Linked DNA regions of Homo sapiens: region 2 is linked to region 1. The links are contacts of gene promoters, found by promoter capture Hi-C in human tissues and cell types (Jung and others, 2019). All regions are on one chromosome and are shown on one strand. Each heading gives the region's core, a stretch centred on a gene start or on the middle of the fragment in contact. The rest is flanking DNA. Distances are from core to core; before and after follow the strand shown.

Evidence for each region. The method cuts DNA at HindIII sites, captures the fragments that hold promoters and counts their contacts. A contact is called where the count stands out against the background at its distance.
Region 2: a contact is called between a fragment that was not itself captured here and the fragment with the promoter of ZNF134 in region 1, in 1 of the 25 tissues and cell types used here (spleen).

What each region holds. Positions count from the first base shown.
Region 1 is chr19:57,612,314-57,617,289 of GRCh38, forward strand. ZNF134 (zinc finger protein 134) reads left to right here and starts at 1,929. Exons shown (of 3, transcript NM_003435.5): 1 at 1,929-2,190. It also overlaps a transcript of ZNF530 not described here. RefSeq lists an enhancer at 1,824-2,003 and a silencer at 2,134-2,183. The HindIII fragment of the contact is 8,655 bases long and covers 1-4,976 here.
Region 2 is chr19:58,267,761-58,272,736 of GRCh38, forward strand. The region is part of intron 1 of ZNF8-DT (ZNF8 divergent transcript); the gene reads right to left. It also overlaps a transcript of ZNF544 not described here. Among named protein-coding and RNA genes, the nearest start is that of ZNF8-DT, 8.5 kb to the right of the region's middle. The HindIII fragment of the contact is 7,344 bases long and covers 1-4,976 here.

The sequences.
Region 1 (4,976 bases), core at 679-3,178:
ACAGCGTAAGCTATTGGGGTCTGTCTCTTGTTTTGTAAATGTCCCATGCAGTTAAGATAGTGTCTGAAATACAGTAGGTGTTCCTTGAATATTTCTTAGAACTATGAATAAGCATAATACTACAGCATCCCTGTTCACCTTAATATTCTGATAGCACTTTCTAAATGTTTTCTTTACTTCTCCTTCCAGGTATTATTGAGTGTTTTCAAGAATGAAAAGAGGCCTGGCATGGTGGCTCACATCTGTAATCCCAACTTTTTGGGAGGCTGAGGTGGGAGGATCCCTTGAGCCCAAGAGTTTGAGGCTGCAGCAAGCTATGATCGTGCCACTACACTCCAGCCTGTGCAACACAGTGAGATCCTGTCTCCAAAATTAAATAAATAAATAAAATTACATTTTGGAGACTAAACGCTGCTTGTAGTCATAGTTCTAACACAGCTGTGTGCTCAGCTTCATTTGCTCACTTCTCAGAATTCAATGTCTCCTGCTCAAATTTTGCTGTCATCTTAACCGTTTTCACTTATCACAGATATGTTTCTCCAGGTCCATTTCGTCATGTATCTGTGAATAACTACAGAATTATTAACTTTGAGTAATTTGGCCGGGCGCGGGGGCTCTCCTGTAATCCCAGCACTTTGGGAGGCTGAGGCGGGCAGATCACGAGGTCAGGAGATCGAGACCATCCTGGCTAACACGGTGAAACCCCATCTCTACTAAAAATACAAAAAGTTAGCCGGGCATGGTGGCAGGCGCCTGTAATCCCAGCTACTCCGGAGGCTGAGGCAGGAGAATAGTGTGAACCTGGGAGGCGGAGCCTGCAGTGAGCTATGGTCGCACCACTGCACTCCAGCCTGGGCGACTGAGCAAGACTCCGTCTCAAAAAAAAAAAACACAAAACAACTTTTGAGTAATTTAAACAATTCACAAATGTTTTTGTCTTTCTTTCCCCATACACTCGCCCTTTTCTTTTTTAAAACCATAAATAAATCTCAATTCTCAATTCAGACACTGTCGGTGTAATTGCAGGTGAAATGAGAATCACCTCCCAGCCAAGAAATCTGATCCCAATTTTCCAAATCTTTATTTCTGGGTTCAGACACCACATTTTCAGCCCCTGTCTTGGCATATAAAAGCATTTATAATGGTTCTTCTTTTCAGATAAGAAACATCACCAAAAGGAAATAGATATATCTCAACTTTTGGGCTAGGAACTCTCATTTGGATAAAAGAATATTTCTCCTTTGGTTGGACATTAGTGACCATACAGGCAGGAAAGGTGCCTTCCTTGACCACCTTCTCTCGCCTGTCTTCCTCCTCATGGTTCTCTCAGGTATTTTTTTTCTGAGGAAACCAGAGGAAGAGCTCTATATTAGTCCACTTGCCTCAGGGAGCTCCAGCATCCCTCCATAGCCACTGTCTGGAGACCATTCTTCCACTCCATGGCCCTGCCTGGGGACAATTCTCTGTTAACTCTGACCCAACTGAGGCTCACAAAACTGACTCAAAGCTTCCCTCTACAGTACACATATTTTTTAAATGAAGGAAATTTGACTGAACTATGAGTGGACTCAGAGTGACATTGGATGTTGTGTGTCCATTTGGTGGTGTGGCTTCAGGGAACATCTGTAAGAATATATCCCAATATTTCGGGGATCCCTGCAGACCTCACTACACAAGACCTGGTTGAGGGTCCTTTAAAAGGAGCGAAGCCACGCCCTGACCTCAGAGTCTCAGGGCATAATTTCTCAGCGCCCCTCGCAGTACCATTTGGCCTTTGCCCAGCGTGCAGGGGAGTTAGCCGTCACCACGGCCAAGTGCACATGAGAACTGCATTGCCCAGAAACCTGTGCGCCGCCCGGCGGCGGCACTCTTAGGGGCGTCTCCCTGCGGACGGAAGCTCTCTGGGCGGGACTTCCGGTATCTTCCTCGCGGTGGACATCTTGTCGGCTCTTAGGTGGAACCATCGGAGCAGAAGCTCGGGGTTGCTGGGCGGTTCCGAGGTGACGGAAGCGGGAGGGTGCGGGAGAAGTCGCTGTTCGCTCTGCGGAGTGGCTCGCCAGCGAAGACCCCGCCTGCGCCCCCGGGGACGGACGACCGCGGTGCCAGGGTCCCGCGACCTGGGACCCCCTCGCGGCTCCGGGTGGTCTACGAACTGTGATGGCGGCGGCCGCGGTGATGGGCCCGGCGCAGGTGGGTGCTGCCTTTCCCAGACTTTCGCCCGCCCCAAATCCTGAAGTTCCAAATGAGGAGCGCCTGTCTGAGTCCCTGCAGCGCAGGCCCCAGTGTCCAAGGCAGCGGGGCGCTGGTGGGTGGGGGCGAGTGTGACTGGCAGAGGGGCAGCCTGAGCATAGGTTTGGAGCTGGACTGAGCCCGTAGCAGTCGGGAGCGTGTGTGAACCGTAGTCAGGCCTGCAATGTCGAGGGGAGAAGTTGCTCCTTCATTGCGAGGACGATAGGAGCCATGGCGGGTTTTGAATGGTGGAGGGAAGGGATCCGAAAAAGGATTTTTAAAGTATTCCAATGTTTGCTGAGGAGGAAACCGACTACAGTGAGGTAGAAACGATGAGGATGGAGGCAAGGAGACGTTTGAGGAGGTCCCTGCAACAAACTCCAGAAGTGTTGCGGTGGTGGCTGGGCCAGAGCAGTGGCAGGAGGGGTTGGGTGGGGAAGTCATGAGATTCTGGGTAGATTTTTAAAGATGGAACCAATGGGGTTTCCTGCCGCATCAGATGTGGTCGTGAGTGAATGTAGGGAGGAAAGGGCTATCCAGGGTTTTTTTGGCCTGTTTTCCTTCCTGAACGTGTGAAAGAATGGAAATTGGTAAGTCACAGCAGGGAGCACGTTTCAGGGGCATCAGGAATTGGGTTTTGGACTTGGTGAATCTAAGGTGTTCTGCACTGGAGGTTCATCACGGGTAGCTGAACATGCAGGTCTGGGGTTCTAGAGAGGGAGTTGTGCTAGAGACTTCAATGGGTGAGGCATAAGGTCAAAGCCTGTAGTAGATCAGATTTAGAGGGTGGAATTTCAAGGAAGTTATTTTGTGTGGTCTCTGAAGTGAGAGGTGGGTTTAGGGTGGAAGGCCAGGGATGAAGGGGTGGACACTTAAGATTCCTTCCAGAAAGGAGGGGTCCTGGCATGTGAAAGCATTCTAGATGGTGTTGTTGGAAGTCAATGCTTGGTGCTGCAAAGTGAAACCAGCACTCAGGCAAAAGTTTTCTCAGCAAGGCAATTTACTTCTGTGCAAGTGTGCTGCCTGTGTTAATCACGATCCCAAGAGCACACTGAACAAAGGAGGGAAGGGGTTTTTATCTCTAACCCATAGTCCCTACCTTCCTCTGTGTCACTCCCCCATGGGCTGGGGTCGGACCGCTTAATCTAAGCTGAGCCAATTGGGTATTTGTGAGTATTTTCCAAATAAGGAAGAGGGAAGGGGAAGGTGAGTTACAGTGGTGGGACATGTGAGTTGTGTAGGACGTGTGGTTTTGGCGGGGGCAATGGGTGCAAAGTGAGTAAGGGAACAGATGTGAATTATTGGTTAGTGCTTACAGGAAGGTTGTTTATAGTAACTAGGGGCAAGGAGGCATGGAGAACAAGAAAGGTTTGAGAACAAAGAACAAGGAAGTTAACAGGCTAAACCTTTGAAGAGGAATTTTATTATATCTTATAGTGTCAGCAAGAGGAGAGGGCTGTAGAGCATAAGTAGCCTGGCCTGCACTGGAGACCAAGGTGAGGGATGCAGTAGGTTTGCCACCCTACAGGCTCAGCATGCCTTCATGGGCGCTGCCTGTGGAGCAGTCCCATCCCCAACCAGTGCATTGGTGCCTCAGTTACCCAAACCCTCAGGTAAGCAGAATTGATGAACATCTCTAATGAAGGATCACTGCAGCTCCCCTTCAGAGGAATATGTATCAGGTAGGCTGGTTTAGTGCAAGGGCTAGTGTACACCTTGCAAGTACGCAGAAGGAACTAAAAAATGTATGTACAAAGTAAGGGAAATTTATACTAGCACTTAATGATTGGTCAAAATATTAAGTTGCCTTGAAGTATTTTATTACAATGGAAAAATCTTAACCAAATTTTCTTAAAAGCTTTAAAGCAGGCAAAACAAACCTAATTTTTCAAAAACTCATCAGTTCATTTGCATGGATAGTAGTAGCTGTTTCAAAGGCACTTGAGATGTACAGACAAGCCTGATACAAACAGTAGCCCTATGAGGTGGGTGCCATTATTATCCCCACTTTTAAGATGAGGACACTCAGACGCTGGTCTTTATGTTCACACAGCTGGTGGGAGCCAGCACTGAGATCTGAGTATCTGAAGTTAGAGAGGTAACCCAAAATCATTCCTGCCAAAGGGCAGGGTAGGCAGGGCTTAGGGAAACAGTTCAGTCGATGAGATCCCACTGTGGGAACCTGCCACTCCCAGCTTCCCTCCTCTTGTGAGGTTGCCATGGTGGCAGAAACTTATGATTCCTACCTAGATGAGAGTAGATTGTCTCAGGCCCTCACTTAGCCCAACACACCCCCATTATCTCAGCAACTCAGTGTGGAGAATGATAGTGTTCTGGGACTCTTCAGTGTCCCTTCTGCCTACCGTTCTTGGAGGTCCTGCAGTCACCCAAAGCTCTGTGTTGTAAATTCTGTTTTGGAATTATGTGGAAGGGTTTCTATTTCTGGCAAGCAATGGGATGAAATGTGGAACATTATCTCAGGCATAGGAACCAGCATGTGCAAATACTTAACTTAAGGCTAAACTAGGAGTGTTCAGGGAACCTCAGGCCTCCATTATGTCTGGTGGGATCAGACAGCAGGGACAGGATTCAGCCCAGAAATGGCAGCCTGAGGATCTGGGTTTGTATGCTGAGAGAATTGGGAGCCACTGCAGGTTTGGAGCTAGGAGGGAGTGATCTGACTTTGGTCTTAACCAACTTCCTCTGTACAGTGAAAAAAGACTGTGGGAGTGAGGATGAAGGAAGGA
Region 2 (4,976 bases), core at 1,634-4,133, 660 kb after region 1:
TCACGAGGTCAGGAGATCGAGATCATCCTGGCTAACAGGTGAAACCCCGTCCCTACTAAAAATACAAAAAATTAGCTGGGCATGGTGGCGGGCACCTGTAGTCCCAGCTACTCGGGAGGCTGAGGCAGGAGAATGGCGTGAACTCAGGAGAAGGAGCTTGCAGTGAGCCGAGATCACGCCACTGCACTCCATCCTGAGCAACAGAGCGAGACTGCGTTTCAAAAAAAAAAAGAGGGTTACCAGTAAAAAATAAGACAGACTGGGCGTAGTGGCTCACGCCTATAATCCCAACACTTTGGGAGGCCGAGGCGGGCGGATCACCTGAGGTTGGGAGTTTGAGATCAGCCTGACCAACATGGAGAAACCCTGTTTCTACTAAAAATACAAAATTAGCCGGGCATGGTGGTGCATGCCTGTAATCCCAGCTACTCAGGAGTCTGAGGCAGGAGAATCGCTTGAACCTGGGAGGTGGAGATTGCAGTGAGCCGAGGTCTAGTGCCATTACACTCCAGCCTGGGCAACAAGAGTGAAACTCCGTCTCAGAAAAAATAAATAAAAATAAAAAATAAGATACTTTGATAAAATAGAACAATGAGAACCAGAACAGGCTCTTTGAAATTACAAGTAAGATTGTTCAATGTTATAGATACAATGTTTAGTGAGAAACAGAATGCTTGTTGCCTGGTGCTGCAAAGAAATAGCACTCAAAACATAAATTTAATTCTCTCAGCAAGGCCGTTTTTACTTTCTGCAGAAAGGGTGCTCATCACAGATGGAACAATGGCAAGAGCACACCTGAACAAAGGAGGGAAGCAATTTTTATTCCTTAGGCAGTTTGTCCCTGCTACTGTGTCCTGTCTCCGTTGGCTGGAGCCAGCCTGCACAATCTAAACTAAAACTAGATTAGCTAACAGTTTAAAACTTTTCTAAATAGGTAAAAGTAGTGGAAAGACGAAGGAAAAGAGGAAGTTGCTTATGCCAGATATGGAAGGAGCATAGGCTGTAAGCTGGAACGTGACCATGAGCATGTCCAGCACAAATAACTTGGTTAAGGTACAGGGACATAGAACGTACTACGTGCCTGTGAGCATGTTTACCAGCTACATAGGATAGGGCCTAACAAAGACTTACTAGCACAAAGCAAGGAGGTTTCAAGGAAGTTAGTTTATAAAAGAAACTATTATTTTTTAACACTTATGATTTATTCTTTAACAAGAAGGGAAACTTTGAAGAGGAACTTTTACTTTCCACATTGAACAAATAAGTAAGAAAAAGAAAGGGAAACTTCCCCAGGGCTGAAAGGAAATTTTCAGGTCATGCCATTATTATCAGAATTAATAAGACCCATGCATCGTGGAAAACTGAGAACACCACGACTAAAAACAGATGGCAGGCTGGGCGTGGTGGCTCACGCCTGTAATCCCAGCTCTTTGGGAGGCTGAGGCAGGCAGATCACCTGAAGTCAAGAGTTTGAGACCAGCCTGGCCGACATTGTGAAACCTCATCTCTAATAAAAATTCAAAAATTAGCCAGGCATGGTGGCAGCCGCCTATAATCCCAGCTATTCAGGAGGCTGAGGCAGGAGAATCGCTTGAACTCGAGAGGTAGAGGTTGCAGTGAGCTAAGATTGTGCCACTGCACTCCAGCCTTGGGCGACAAAGCGAGACTCTGTCTCAAAAAAAAACAAACAAAAAAAATGTCAGGGTCGGGCATGGTGGCTCACACCTGTAATCCCAGCTACTTGGGAGGCTGAGGTAGGAGAATTGCTTGAACCCAGGAGGTGGAGGTTGCAGTGAGCTAAGATTGTGCCACTGCACTCCAGCGTGGGCGACAAAGCGAGACTCTGTCTCAAAAAAAAAAAAAAAAAAAAAGATGGCAGGGCTGGCATGGTGGCTCACGCCTGTAATCCCAGCACTTTGGGAGACCGAGGCAGGTGGATCACTCTAGGTTAGGAGTTTGAGACCAGCCTGGCCAAGATGGTGAAACCCTGTCTCTACTAAAGATACAAAAATTAGCCAAGTGTGGTGATAAATGCCTGCAATCCCAGCTACTCAGGAGGCTGACGCAGGAGTATCACTTGAACCTGGGAGGCAGAGGTTGCAATGAGTCTAGATCATGCCACTGGACTCCAGCCTGGGCGACAGAATGAGACTCTGTCTCAAAACAGAGCAAATGGCATGGCAGAACCTTCTCTAGAGAAAATAGTTTTGAATCTAAGAAAGGAATAGCTTTAATCTAGAAAAGGAATAGGGCAAGAAAAGGAATGTTTATTCACCCATAACTTAAAAAAAAAGGTAATTTTAATTGAAGGCTTCAAGGTAAATTGTGCTCAAACTATACAAATTCTGCTAGATGGTTATAGTTCCTATGTGAAGGTAACTTTAGAAAGTAGTGTTCACTTGACACTGATGTGAGTAATTCTTGCTGGAGGGGGCAAAAAGCTCATGAAATTTGAATAAAGGAGGAGGAGATGCAGTCAGATTGTTGATTGACCCTTCAGGGAATGGCATTTGCATAGCTGTGACGTGAACCCTAGGTATTGGCTTTTTTTTTCTTTTTTTTTGAGAAGGAGTCTCTGTTGCCCAGTCTGGAGTGCAGTGGCGCGATCTTGGCTCACTGTAACCTCCGCCTCCCGGGTTCAAGCAATTCTCCTGCCTCAGCCTCCTGAGTAGCTGGGATTACAGGCACGTGCCACCACGCCCAGCTAATTTTTGTATTTTTAGTAGACACAGGGTTTCACCATGTTGGTCAGGATGGTCTCCAACTCCTCACCTTGTGATCCGCCCACCTTGGCATCCCAAAGTGCTGGGATTACAGGGATGAGCCATTGCACCCGGCCTGTATTGGCTTTTAATTTTTAGGAAGTAACACATGGCTGTGACCTGACAACTTCATAGTGGCCGTAGGGTAGGGCACTGTTGTCATTATTCCTGTCACTGACAATGTCAGCCCCACCTGCAGATGTGGGAGAGTAGATGGGGAAAGTAGTAGTGGAGAGTAGAGGTTTCCCTTACCATCCTTTTAGGAAGTAGGCTTTTAAACATGATATGTAAGTTTATTTAGAAGATGAAAATTAAAGCTTGAAATGTAATATGAGAGGAATTGGCAGCGGATGTGAGTCAGATCCTCACCTGTCAGAGCAGGAAGTTAGTGAAAACTAAAGATGATTGGCTGGATGCGGTGGCTTATGCCTGTAATCCCAGCACTTTGGGAGGCTGAGGTGGGTGGATCACCTGAGGTCAGGAGTTTGAGACCAGCCTGGCCAACATGGTGAAACTCTGTCTCTACTAAAAATACAAAGATTAGCCCAGCGTGGTGGTGGGCACCTGTAATCCCAGCTACTCAGGAGGCTGAGGCAGGAGAATCGTTTGAACCCAGGAAGTGGAGGTTGCAGTGAGCTGAGATTGCATCACTGTGCTCCAGCCTGGGCAACAGAGTCAGACTCCGTCTCCAGGAAAAAAAAAAAAAAAAAGACTAAAGATGATCAAAGATTAGAATTACGGAGGTGTCCTCAAGAAGAATTGGAACAGATATGGTTAAAAGTGGCTGGAGGTGGGTGCAGTGGATATGGTGGTGCACACCTGTAATCCCAGTGCTTTGGGAGGCTGAGGCAGGTGGATCACTTGAGCCTAAGAGTTGGAGACCAGCCTGGGCAACATGGCGAGACCTGGTCTCTACAAAAAATACAAAAATTAGCCGGGCATAGTAGCACATACCTGAAGTCCCAGCTACTCAGGAAGCTGAGTTGGGAGGATTCTTTGACCCCAGGAGGTTGAGGCTGCAGTTAGCTGTTATTATATCACTGCACTCCAGCCTATGTGACAGTGTGAGACCCTATCTCAAAAAAAAAGTGATGTCGGGAGGCTGAGAGGATGAGTGACTGGGGCAGGAGATGAGTACTTTCCCTTTTAAGCCCATAGCATTTAATTCCCTGGTGGTTCACTTCTTATTTGGATAACTAACAAATTATTTCAAATGTGTGCCTATAGGTGAGAGAAGCAATGGTACATGAGGAGGTAAGCATTTGATTTGTGGGATTATGAACAACTGTCCTACTCTCCTTTTGATTCGGTGTCTCTGTATTAGTGATCTGACAATTTAAAAAATCAAGCAAGAGCAGGCTGGGCGCAGTGGCTCATGCCTGTAATCCCAGCACTTTGGGAGGCCGAGGCGGGCGGATCACTTGAGGTCAGGAGTTGAAGACCAGCCTGGCCGACATGGTGAAACCCTGTCCCCACTAAAAATGCAAAAATTATCTGGGCGTGGTGGTGGGTGCCTGTAATGCCAGCTACTTGGGAGGCTGAGCAGGAGAATCGCTGGAACCCGGGAGTTGGAGATTGCAATGAGCCGAGATTGCCCCACTACACTCTAGCCTGGGCAACAGAGTGAGACTCCTTGACAGGAAAAAAAAAAAAAAAAAGCATAAAGAAAAGATGTCAGACTTGTCTGTTTGGCCAGTTTGAGTTTATTTCAGCAGGCAGGGCAGGAAGGTTCCTTGGCTTCCTAGAATCCCCTGGAGTTGGATGGGTGTGGTGGCTTACACCTGTAATCCTAACAGACCAAGGCCCAGGTGGAAGGATCAACTGAGGCCGTGAGTTTGAGATTAGACTGGGCAACATGGCAGGACTCTGTCTCTGCAAGAAATAAAAAACCAGGTGTGGTGGCACGCGCCTGTTGTTCCAGCTACTCAGGAGGCTGAGGTGTGAGATCACTTGAGCCTGAGAAGTTGAGGCTGCAGTGAGCTGAGATTGCACCACTGCATTCCAGCCTGGGCAACAGAGTGAGACCCTGTTTCTTTAAAAATAAAAATAAAAATAATCCCTTGGATTTAAAGGGAGTGGGTTAGTCCTTGAAGATTTGATTTTCCAGAATTCTTATCAAGAAGAAGTTGAGGCGGGAGAATCATGAGGTCAGGAGTTCAAGACCAGCCTGGCCAACATGGTGAAACCCCGTCTCTACTAAAAGACGTGGTGGTG